3 separate regions of the Homo sapiens genome follow, and all the other regions are linked to region 1. The links are contacts of gene promoters, found by promoter capture Hi-C in human tissues and cell types (Jung and others, 2019). All regions are on one chromosome and are shown on one strand. The core of a region is centred on a gene start or on the middle of the fragment in contact, and the rest is flanking DNA. Distances in the headings are between cores, read along the strand shown.

The links. The method cuts DNA at HindIII sites, captures the fragments that hold promoters and counts their contacts. A contact is called where the count stands out against the background at its distance.
Region 2: a fragment that was not itself captured here is called in contact with the fragment with the promoter of NKX2-1 in region 1 in 2 of the 25 tissues and cell types used here (aorta and dorsolateral prefrontal cortex).
Region 3: a fragment that was not itself captured here is called in contact with the fragment with the promoter of NKX2-1 in region 1 in 4 of the 25 tissues and cell types used here (H1 embryonic stem cells, heart right ventricle, mesendoderm cells and 1 more).

Annotation. Positions count from the first base shown.
Region 1 is chr14:36,518,527-36,522,302 of GRCh38, forward strand. It overlaps NKX2-1 (NK2 homeobox 1), which reads right to left and starts at 1,706. Exons shown (of 3, transcript NM_001079668.3): 1 at 1,527-1,706; 2 at 459-844. The coding sequence starts at 1,603. It overlaps SFTA3 (surfactant associated 3), which reads right to left and starts at 1,030. Exons shown (of 5, transcript NR_161365.1): 1 at 942-1,030. It overlaps NKX2-1-AS1 (NKX2-1 antisense RNA 1), which reads left to right and starts at 752. Exons shown (of 2, transcript NR_103710.1): 1 at 752-1,153; 2 at 3,118-3,776. RefSeq lists enhancers at 1,122-2,121, 2,122-3,121, 3,122-3,776. The HindIII fragment of the contact is 7,239 bases long and covers 1-3,776 here.
Region 2 is chr14:36,314,412-36,318,187 of GRCh38, forward strand. It overlaps MBIP (MAP3K12 binding inhibitory protein 1), which reads right to left. Exons shown (of 9, transcript NM_016586.3): 2 at 2,282-2,401; 3 at 280-504; 4 at 101-197. Among named protein-coding and RNA genes, the nearest start is that of MBIP, 4.3 kb to the right of the region's middle. The HindIII fragment of the contact is 5,986 bases long and covers 1-3,776 here.
Region 3 is chr14:36,646,544-36,650,319 of GRCh38, forward strand. No RefSeq gene overlaps it. Among named protein-coding and RNA genes, the nearest start is that of PAX9, 13 kb to the right of the region's middle. RefSeq lists an enhancer at 809-1,638. The HindIII fragment of the contact is 7,467 bases long and covers 1-3,776 here.

The DNA of each region.
Region 1 (3,776 bases), core at 456-2,955:
GAGTCCCCTCTGGAACTGCGAGTCCTCCCACCTGCCCAGACTCCGCTGGAGAGAGGGCCGGGCCGGGCGCTCGAGTGCCTCCCAACAGGGCAGCCTCCCTCCTGGCCCGGTCTAGCCTCTCCGCGCTCTGCTCGCCCCTGCTCCTTGAGCTCGGGGTCGCTTCCCTTGGCTCCCCGAGGTCTTCTGCGCCGAGCAGAGCTGCCAGTCCACCGCGCCTAGGAGACGCCGAGTACCCGCATCTGACCGCAGGACCCCAGCGCTACCAAGTGCCTGTTCTTGGACCCCCAGCCGAGCAGGGGGAAGCATCCCCAGCTCCCGCACCCAAGTCCCTGGCGCCGCTGCCGGGCCGCCCTCCCTGATGCCCAGCGCGCAGCCTGCCGGCGCCGCGCCTTCTGGACGGCTCTCGCCGCACCTCCTGAGCTCAGCCCGCGGCCCCGCAGTGGGGCGGCCTCACTTACTGGCGGGGAAGCGCGGGTCTGGGTTGGCGCCGTACCATCCGGGGCCAGAGGCGCTGTTCCTCATGGTGTCCTGGTACGGCGGCAGCTCGCTCATGTTGCCCAGGTTGCCGTTGCAGTAGCCCCCCACGGCGGAGTGCGAGAGCTGGGGCACCCCCGCCGCCGTCATGTGGTAGGCGGCGGTGACGGCGCCGTGGTGCCCCACGGCGTGCTGCTGCATGGCCGCTGTTGGCGGTGCCGCCTGGCCCTGCCTGTACGCCGCCAGCGGAGCCCCGAGGCCGCCGCCCTCCATGCCCACTTTCTTGTAGCTTTCCTCCAGGGGACTCAAGATGTCAGACACTGAGAACGGAGTCGTGTGCTTTGGACTCATCGACATGATTCGGCGGCGGCTGGAGGAGGAAGGAAGAGGAGGAAAAAAAAGGGAGAGGGGGAAGGCGAAGCCTCGCTGCTTTTTTTTTCTCCCTTTGCCAAATATTCTGGTGTTACCTTAACGCCGATCTTGTTGGATGTACACGTAACGGAGTGGACCGAGTCCTCCTTAATTGGCTTGAGTGGAGGCTCGGGGGCTGCCTCGCGTTTGTTTTAGCCCGGCGCCAGGTTTTAGGCAGCCACCAGAGGCGGGGCGTAAGCGCTAAAGCAACAAGACAATAGAAGCCTACATCTTGCCCGAGATAATTAGCTTACATGCTGATGACAAGGTAAACACCTTTAAGTTTCACTTGTCAGGATTTTTAGGTCTCAAAGAGAGAGAGAGAGAGGCAGAGACGAGACCCAAAGCATTTCCCCCCTCCCTTGGACACCCCCACCCCCATTTTTTGTGGGGTACCAGCGGAGCGCGGGGAGGAGGTGGAGGGGAGGGGAAGGAGGAGGGAACCGAGAGCGGGGAGGGCAGGAGGTGGGGTGGGGGAGTAACAGAGGAGGAGAGATGGTTGAGAGGAAGGAAGGTGAATGCTGCTTTGCAACCAACTTGCGGAGTTACAAAGTGGAACCACTTTCCAATTCGGTCGGGGTTCCCCGGGCACGGACAGGTCTTTAGGAGGAGGGGGCTGAGGGACAGGGTGGGGGTTTCACCTGAGCCTGCCGGGGCTGCTCCTCCCTCCCGCCGCGGCCTCCCAGCCCCGCGCCTTCCCACTGCCTCCGGACCACATCGGGCTTCGCTGCGCTGAGCCCCAGTCGCCAACAAATGAGCGAGCGAGTCTGGGGACGAACCCTGGGGCCGCACTGTTGGTCTACGTGTCTGTCAGTCTGTCTGCCTCTCTTCTGCCGCCGTCAGAGGGACACCTCTGCTCCCCGCCCCCTTTCCCCCTACCGGAGAGAATCCGAGCGGGCGGAGGGGGCGCTGAGTAGGGGATCGACTGCCTCCCGGAGGCTGTCCCGGATCCCCGAGCCACAACCCGCCCCCGCAGCTCAGGGGTTTTTCAGTGGGCCACCCCCGCTAACACGCCTCCCCCAAGGTCTTCCCCCCCCCCCCCCACCCCCGGCCGAGCAAACACAGCACTGGCCCCCAGAGCTGGGAGGATGGGAAGGGGTCTCACGGGAGGGTCCGTCACTGAAGTTGCCCCACCTCGAACAAACCTGGTGTCCCTGACCCTCGCCCATCTCCCAGACACGCGGGGATCTGGGGCTGGAGCTGACTTTCCGAGGACATCACAGCCCCAGCACCCGAGCCCAGAGCCACGCTGTTTTCCCCTCTGATGCTTCAGGGAGCGCGCGAGCAGGGAGCGGCGTGAGTGCCCGTCTGTCTGTTGCCGGGCGGAACTGAGCCTGAACCCCGGCGGCTGGAGCGCTGGCCAGGAGGGGGCGAATGCCGAGGTGCGGGCAGCTCAGCGGGCGGGAGGCTGGGCCGAGGCTCGCCTCCGCCCGCAGCTCAGCCATGCAAAAGTGCTCTTGCTTCCCGGGAATAACCAAATATCTTTGTTTAAAGTGGTGGCGTAAATGGCCAGTCGCTTTGTGGCCACGCTGGATATTAGTAGATGAGGATCATTCTGCTTCAATTGGGCGCCTCTCATCCGACGAGCAAGAAACTGCTTAGGAGGAAGAGGGTTTCCTGTCTGCGCGTTCCCAGGCTTCAAGTGTGGGCCCCGCGCCTTGAGGGTCCTTGGGCGCCTGGCGAGGGGGAGCTGTGGGCTGCGCTCCCCAGCGGAATCGGGGGTGTCCCCCGCGTTGCTCCGGCCAGGCCGGGGCCTGCAGCCGAGTCGACTACCGAGTGGAGCACTGAACGGCGCGGATTTTGAGACCGACTCCGGTTTTTGTCCTTGGATTTTAAACGTTTTTATCATTGTTTTTGTTTTGCTTTCTCCTTAGCTGTTTTAGTCTCCTCTGCGCGCCAGGGGCTGGGAGGGCGGAGCGCTCCCCGGCCGGCCCCGGCAGGTGCCTCCAAGACACCCGCGCTGGTCAAGGAGCTTCTTGAATTTAGTTTTTGTTTTCACATTTTCTTTCCCCTCCTTGTAGAGAAGGAGCTCCTGATCATGACGAACAGGCAGTTTTGAGCTACTTAATTCATCCGGGCTCCCTTTTTTTATTAATAGCAATTACAGTAGAGAAAGTTTTATTTATTTTTAAAGATTTCAGCCCTCTCCTTGAAGAGAGCTCTTACTCCCTCAATACAAAGCCAACTTCTATAATAACATTCGCTTTTCTCACCGCCTACCTTCTTTACCAGGGTAAAGAAAGCTCAGGACACCCTCCGCCCTCCCACCTGCGCCCGCGTTTTTGTGCGGTCCCCACGGCAGAGCTGGGGAGGCCACCCTACGTTTGCGCAGGGAGACGCGCTCGCCGCTGGTGTTGCGAAAGACCAGAGCGAAGCCCGGCTCCTTGCCCTTCCTTCCCAGGGGCTTCTCTGGGGGGCGCTCTCAGGCCCCGACGAACTGAGCATTGATCACTGTGGTGGCTAAGCAAGGAGGGGAGGCGACGCCGGGCTTAAGCGAACCACAGAGGAGAACTGGCAACGCTGAATACAGACCTTGTCTGCAGGCGCGACCTGGCCGGGCCTGAGTCCCGAATGGGGTCTAATTGCGAAGGCGGGGTGGGTTTCCCAGTCACCCAGCTTCTTTCTCTCACTCGCCATTATTTCATAGTTGTTTGTAAGTTTAAGGAACACCAAGTGTAGAATGTTGTACATCTCTTCCAGTCTCAACGCCATTTAGAAATGGAGATCAATCTTCACAAGGTTTTTGTGAGATTCAAGTAAGATGAAGCACATCAAAATGCTTTGAAAGCTTTGAATGTTTTTCAGCTCAGTGCCAGCACTGGAGATTGCGGTAGTTATTATCATGACTATCCCCACCCCCTCTTAGGTCCCAAGACCTGAGTAAAAGGAAG
Region 2 (3,776 bases), core at 602-3,101, 200 kb before region 1:
TGTGTTCTAAAAGCTATTCATTTAAAAAATAAATAAAAGATTAGAGCAACTATAAAAATTGTGCTTAAAACCCTATGAAAATTAATTTCCAGGTAGTTACCTTGATTACAATCAATAACATTGCAAAATTCCCTGACGTTGTTTTCATTGATTTCAGCTTGCTTTCTTTCAATAAATGCAGATATTCGTCTGTCAATCTACAAACAACAAGTTTTAACAGTGTAAACATAAGATTTTTTAAAATAATACCCTCTCGCCCCCGCCAAAAAACCTTCTTACTTCTGCTTTTCCAGCCTTTATCTGAACTACTTCTGGATCAAAATGGATCTGTGTCTTTTTCACATCTCTTAAATCACTTTCTTTGTGCTTTTCTTCCTCTTGTAGGTCGCCAATGGAAAATTTGTCATTTACTTCATTTTTGTTCCCCATTTCTGTTCTTCCTATCTCTTCAACAGCAGTTGTATTCTCCTCTTTAATCGGAGACTGAAGTTTTGCTAAAAAAGGCTGAGAACAACACAATTCCATCTGCTGAGGTTCAATCTGACCAAAATTAATTACACACTTAATATATTTACATAAATTTCTGCTAAGTAAATGAAATACTTAATATCAGTTAATAAATATAAAAAGTTGGTATACCAGGACACATAGATCTGACCACATATAAGTACTCACTATTCTCTGCTATTGTAACCATTATCATTTGCTATAAATTTGTTTTTTAAAAAAGGAGAGAGGAAAAAAGAAAAGAAAAAAGAAAAGAAAACCTAAGGAAATTTAAAATTTTCTTTGAGAGAATCATTCTGTCACTCATCTTTTATTTTGTGCCAAATCAAAGCCTTCAGCCTCTGGCACCAATGCCACTTAATTAACATGTCATTCAAATGCCTCCTCAGAACACTAAGGCTTAGTATTTTTCCTCCTTAACACGAGAGCTAGTGCTCTCACTCAGCAAAGCCCTGCATTATCACTGTATCACTGGAGATTCTCCACTTGAAACTGCAGTTGGCCAATGTGAATGAGGAAGCATAGACATGAAATATATAGGTGTTAGGCTGAGTGAACACTCAGACTTTTCCTGACATGGCAAGATATCTTTTGGTCATAAAATTAAATTTTAAAAAAGAAAACGAACAAGAAAAAAAAAAGATCTATAGCTGAAAACAGGCAGAGGCCTATCACTATACTACAGGGGGAAAACCCCTGTTGTAGAATTTAAACTATATTACTCATTTACTGTTCCCCTCCCCCACTCCCCACAATGAGGTCTCATTTGAGTTCTAGAGCTCACTGCTCTGCCCTTTAAAAACAGGGTTAACTATTACTTTTAACATGAAACAGTTAAAATTTCCCACAAAGTCAATGAATGGAGGGCTGAAAATTAATGCCTATTCCATTAGTCAAAACACACTAACACTAATAACGTTCCAATTATTTTTTTCATACCTACAATTTTGCTTCCATTGTTCGCTATACTACTCTTTTGAAATCTTATAACACCTTAATCACAGTAAACTGACCAATCCAGTTTTTCCACTTATCTTTTTGACACTTCACATTTTACACTTTGATTAGAGATAAACTGCAAACTTACATCAATTATAATTGCAAAGATGTTCAATTAGAAACCAGCAAGGTCATAATACTGTTCAGTTATTAACATGAAATATTTAAAAATATAACAACACTATTATAAATACCAATTCAATATTAACTTCTAATATAAAGAATGAATTATTTCAAACTGTTAAGGAAAAGAAATGATAAAATAGTGACTGGCTACTTACTAAGATGAGACATTAATGTCATAGAAATTACTTTCTTTTTAAAAACTATGCTGAAACTGTTTAATTGCAATAGACACTCCAGGATGTGTCATGCTGGGATAATGCCCCTTCTTGAACCACTGAAAGCACTCCATGAGCCTCCAAACTCACCCAAGGCATGGAATCATTATCATAGCATGACACACACCTGCCGTGTCTTATTGCTTAATTATAACCCACCATAGATGGAACTGTATTGAATTTTCAGTGCAGGTCTAGAATTGAATAGAATTGCATTCATTCACTCATACCCACATTGGTCTTTTGGGCTATATTCCCTTAACTGTCCTGATCACTACTGAAATTAACAGATTTAGATTAAATCCGGATGTAAATAACGTTTTATTAGCAACACTATTAATATAGTGTTTAGAACTGTCAAATACTCCAACTAACTTAACCACAATCAATTTCTATTTTCAATATCGGGTTATCATTTCTAACAAGAAATTTACCTGTAAATATAAAATGTGTTGTTCAAGTGCACTAAAGAGCAATGCAGGCTGGAATGCCGAGAGGCTCTGGAGCTTGTTCCAATCGATTGTAATTTTCACCACATCATCTCTGAGGTCAAGCTTCAAAGGGGCAAACCAGCAACATCACAAAAATTACACGATTAAGCTCTACATATGGAATTGTCACAAAAATAAGATTTCTAGAGTAACGGGTCTATTTTGCTCTAAGTTATCAAGTTTTTAATAATACACTGAAATGCTCTACCCAGTTACCATTTCAAAAGGCCAAGAAAGCTACAGATTTTCATAAAAAAACAAAAACAAAATGACATGTCGTTCAAATTCTATTCTTAGGTCTGTGTAATGGGACCATTTTAGAGGTAAAACCATTCATGAAAGATGAAAAGATGAAGGCTCTTTTGATACTTCAATATATACAAACCTTTGGATGGAGTCCAATATAGGCTTGCCCTATTCAGAATCCTACTACTTCTAGCTCAGAGCCTTAAACAGAGGAAGTACAAGTGTTTTGTGAAAGTTTTAACATGCATCTTTCTCTTTAAGTATGTACACAAATACATATCAGAAATATATCATTATTCTGATGTCCTCCAAATCACATTTTTAGTTTTTTAACTTTTAACCGATTTTTAAACTAATTTAAAAGTCAAGATTATTCATACATATAAAGTGTAGGGATAAATGGCAACATGTTTATTTCAAATAAAAAACTATTATTTAGCAATGGAAGTCTGAAGCTGAAAAACAAAGACTTCTCCACCACAGTGAAATAAGTTGTCAGACTGGATGAAATGTCCAGATCTTTTGTAAATGCTAAGATGTGACAGCTCATTATATGGAAATTTCTATCAGTTGGTGATCTAATAGAATAAAATCATATCCAGAAAACTACCAAGAACCTGAATATAAGATTATTATCAAAATGAGTGAAAATTTTACAATGAGAGCGCCCATCTGCAGTCTTTTGAATGAATAAAAGTGAACCATCAAAAACTTTTCTAGGGACATGTGTTTACAGCATAGTATAAGACTATACTTCATAGTAGAATCAAGTTAACATAATTTATTCAAAATGAGTCATCTTTTCTACAAAATAAAGGTGTTACGTGAGTTCAAATACAGATTTTATGAGTCACAATTATAATAAAAAAGATGAATCACTGTACAAAGATCAAAAAGATATAAGGTTACCAATAAAAAGATAATATATTGAATAAATACTATGTGACAGAAATTTACTGCCCTTTGAAGATGAGAATGGAAGCATTTAAAAGTCCATATTAGACAAGTATAAAGAGATATGAAATTTCATGTAGGCTGCACTGGCAAAGATTAGAATATATTAAGATTGTACATTAAAGTTAATGCATTAATTTATATTACTTTAATTCCTATAAAGATTTTGTTAGACAACAACCTGTATTATGTATGGAAGTAACCCATTAATGTACTTTCATAGTCTTCAAGGAGATCT
Region 3 (3,776 bases), core at 952-3,451, 130 kb after region 1:
GTTCCCCTCAACAGTCTTGACTGTTATTACCATCAGAAACCTAACTCAGAAAACTGTGCTTTCTATATTTCTGAGAAGTTTTGTTCCCTCTGTCTGATCTAATTTCTTTTTTAAATGTTACTCTGAAAAAAGAACGTCTAACCTCTTTGGCATATACAAGAGGAAAGGGTCTCCCCTTTCCAGTGGTGGTGTAGAGAGCGGCTGGGTTCGTCCCTGAGGCCGGAGTGGAGATGACCGCAGCCAGGGTGGCCCTGCTCAAGTTGGGTCAGCAGAGCAAGGTTCCTTCCAGAGGGCTTGCCCCCGGGACAACTTGGAGCCTGCTTCTGGGGAGCCACACACGTCCTCTCCCACTTCTTGCTGGAGACTTGGGGACGTGAAGGGGGGGTTCTGTGATCCCGGAAAAAAAGTAACTTCTCTTGGTAGGTGATACTAGGCAGTTGCGTCCCGGGGAGTCCCCGCCTTTCTGCGCTTCCCCTGACGGGGGCACAGGGGCCGGCGTGCGTGTGTGGGTACGTAGCTCATCCCGGGGAGCTGGGATCCTCTTTTCCGCACTTGGGGAAGACGAATGCCGACCATTGGCTCAGACACCATACCACACAGGCATTTCTGGAGGCATTTCGCGGCGTTATTATGGGAAGTTGCGCGGACCGGGGCCTTCGCGCTACAGCCGAGGAGTCTCAGCGCCTGCCAGGCGGGAGCCGCACTTCCGGCGAGGTGTCTTCGGGAGGGGGCGCCACAGCCCGTGGCAGTGCCGGCCTCCCGCCTTAACCAGCCCGACTCCCGCCGCGCCAGCACCGTGGGGAGCGAGTGGGTCCCGCCCGGCCGCGGCCTGGACCTGGCAGCCGGGCTTCGTGGGCGCTCTGAGCCGTGGCCCGTGGCGCGGGGTGATCCTTGTGCCTGGCGCCGGCCTCAGAACCCCGTTTACGGCTTTCCGCGCATACGGAGGTTGCTGGGGACCCCGACACCTGCGCGCCCTCGACTGGGGCCCGCTCCAGCAGTGAAGACCCAGGCCCTTCCCTGGGCCGTGGCTGCTCTTGGTGCCTCATGGGAGCGCCCGGGGTAGGGACTCGGCTAGTGACCTGTAGGACATGAGGGGCGAGCTGGGAGCCGATTCGCCCACGGCGTCTCCTTCGCCATGGAGGCCCCCCACCCATTCCACTCCGGGGTTGCGGCCACGCACCATAAGAGCACCTTCAGGTCTGAGCTCTTTAGGGGTGGGAGTAGGCAGTTCGTGAGTCCGGGAAGGCCTGCGGGGTTTCCCGCCTGCTGCGGACTTAGCGTGGGGCCGACCGGGGCTGGCGAGGGCTGGCGAGGACTGGCGGGGACCCGCGGGGCTGAGCCAGCTCTCGCGAAGCCCTCAAGTGAGGAACGGCGCTTGTGGCTGCGCGCTCTCCGCAGCCAAGTTGCAGGGTCCAGCAGGGGCTCAGGTCCTGTTCCCTCCGCAGATCCCGGATCTAGGGCTCTAGTGGTCTCGGCCGGAGGGAAGGTGACGCGCAGTGGGCGCAGACGCAGAGTGCGGGGCGCCGAACGTGGGAAGGAGCGGGTTCAGCGCGCTGGTGAGAGTTTCAGGAAATCCGGGAGAGGGCGGTATTTACCAGTCCCTTCCCCGAGAGCAACCAGGCAAATCGGGGAAGGTTAGAGGTGGGGGACCTGCCTGAGCCGGGACAAAAAACTTTGGAGCTAGGGCCTTCTAACCCTGGAGACTTGCCGACTCCGGGGCGGGCTCTCGCACTCAAGTCCCGAGATGGGATGATTTTCCAACTTTCGTCCAGCCTCTCCTTCCGCTCCCGCCGCTCTGCTAGCACTCCCGCACTCTCTCCCTGGGTCACAACCCTCGCCTGCGGAATACCTGTCTGAAGGGCGCGTCAGTAGAAGCTTCGTTTCATACTACCTTTCTTACTGTTCTCTTCATCTAAATCGCAGGACATTATTCTCGGCTTCATTTCCACATAGCATTCGGCAGTGGACAAGGAGTAGGCGGACCCGAACCTGAACCTGACAGCTGATGCCGTGAAGTGGACACTTGAAGTTCTTGGTTTGGCTTTAGGGAGCGTTTAGGGAATGTGTTAGGCAGCAATCGGGCAAGCATGAGCTGTAGCCCAACCCTTCCCTCCGTGGGAAAATTCAAGTTAGGACGCAATGCGAGGCCTCTTAAATCTTTAAGATCCTCGGGTCAGCTCAAAGAGTCTTTAGCAATTCGTTGTTTTGTCTTGAGACCATTATCGGTCCCTAAGCACCTAATTATTTAATGGCAGCCCTCTGGGTATATCGGGTAGACTGATAGGTCTTATCTAACATTCAAACACAAGTTTCTGGAGGAAACTCTCATCTGACTTCCTCCTTTCCCACCCGCCGCCCACTGTCATTTATTTTATTAAATGGAACCCATTTAAAATCCAAATTTATAATTATTAAAAAGCAGTCTTATTACATATTCTTGAAGATTTGGTTGTGTACGATCATTTAATCATGTAGTTTAATTTCTGTGTTGTTCCCACATTGCCAACTTGATGGAGGAGAGCAGACCCGAGGACTTTTCAACCTCCAATAAAAAAGAAGAGGACTTTATGGCTGGGGTGAAAAGGGGCTGGTGAGCTACGACAATGGGGCAGCATAGCTTTACTATGTGCAAAAGCATTCAGACACATGGCGACCCTTTTGCAATAAAACTTTATTGATGATCGTTTGAAAGTTATGGCAACTCCAAGGTTATAAAACTTGTCATAAAATACCAAGCAGTCATTAGTTTACCTGACCTCATTTCAATATAAACTTCCACAAAACATTTTATTTTGTTCCTTCTTATAAGTGGAGAAAAGAAGTTGAAGAGGTTAAATACAGCGGCCCATTATTGAGGATCCAAAATCTGCAATTTGACACTCTGACCTTCATCCCTGCAAATAAAGCAGTAAAATTTACATTTTATTCTTTAATGTTCCGTTATTGCAGAAAAGTTAATAGTGTGTAAATGTTATTGTAGAAAAGATAATAACAGCTATGTTTTAGTTCCAACTGCCCATTTTTAGCACATAACCTGTGTTTAATTTTGGATGGAGACTTTTTCCTCTTTGGAAGATTTGTAAGATATATTTAACAATTATTAAAGAATATTTGCTCCCCGAGCTATGCAATAGAAGTCTAAGAAGCAAATGGCCACATGTTGTCATGTGACCTGAAGAGTTGTTCAAAATATTCAATTAGTATTTACAGCTATTGAGAGGTTAGATGACTAATCACTACCTCTTGCCACCCTCAGTCATGAGCTTAAAGAAAGGCAGCTGCCCTGAGATTGGCACGTACAACTATACTACAGAAAATAACCCAAACTGATGTTCCAAGAAAGCTCCAGGAGATAAACTGGAGTTTGTCAAAATCATCATTTCTGGTCCAACTGTATGAGTGGACTTAAACCATGGATCAGAGAACAGCCACAGAACACTGATAACTTTGAGTGGCTTCTCATCGCTCCAAACTCCACTTTGGATTGGCTGAAGCTCGTGTTTCCTTAATGCTGTGTAGCTAAGGCCAATCTACCTGCTTTTGGGGATTTGTGAGCAAGTACAGATGGCAAAGGTTGACTTTGTGTTAGCTGCATGGTGATTTCTCCAAAACATGTAAAAGTCTGGATATACTTTTTCACGGATTGTTTAAAATATAAGCTCCAAGATTGATCCAGGCATATATGCATTTATGATGGGTTTAGGAATCTAGATGAAGAAAGCTAACTCTTTAGGACCTCGCTGGAACTCTTCTTGGTAATGTTATGCTTAGTTTCC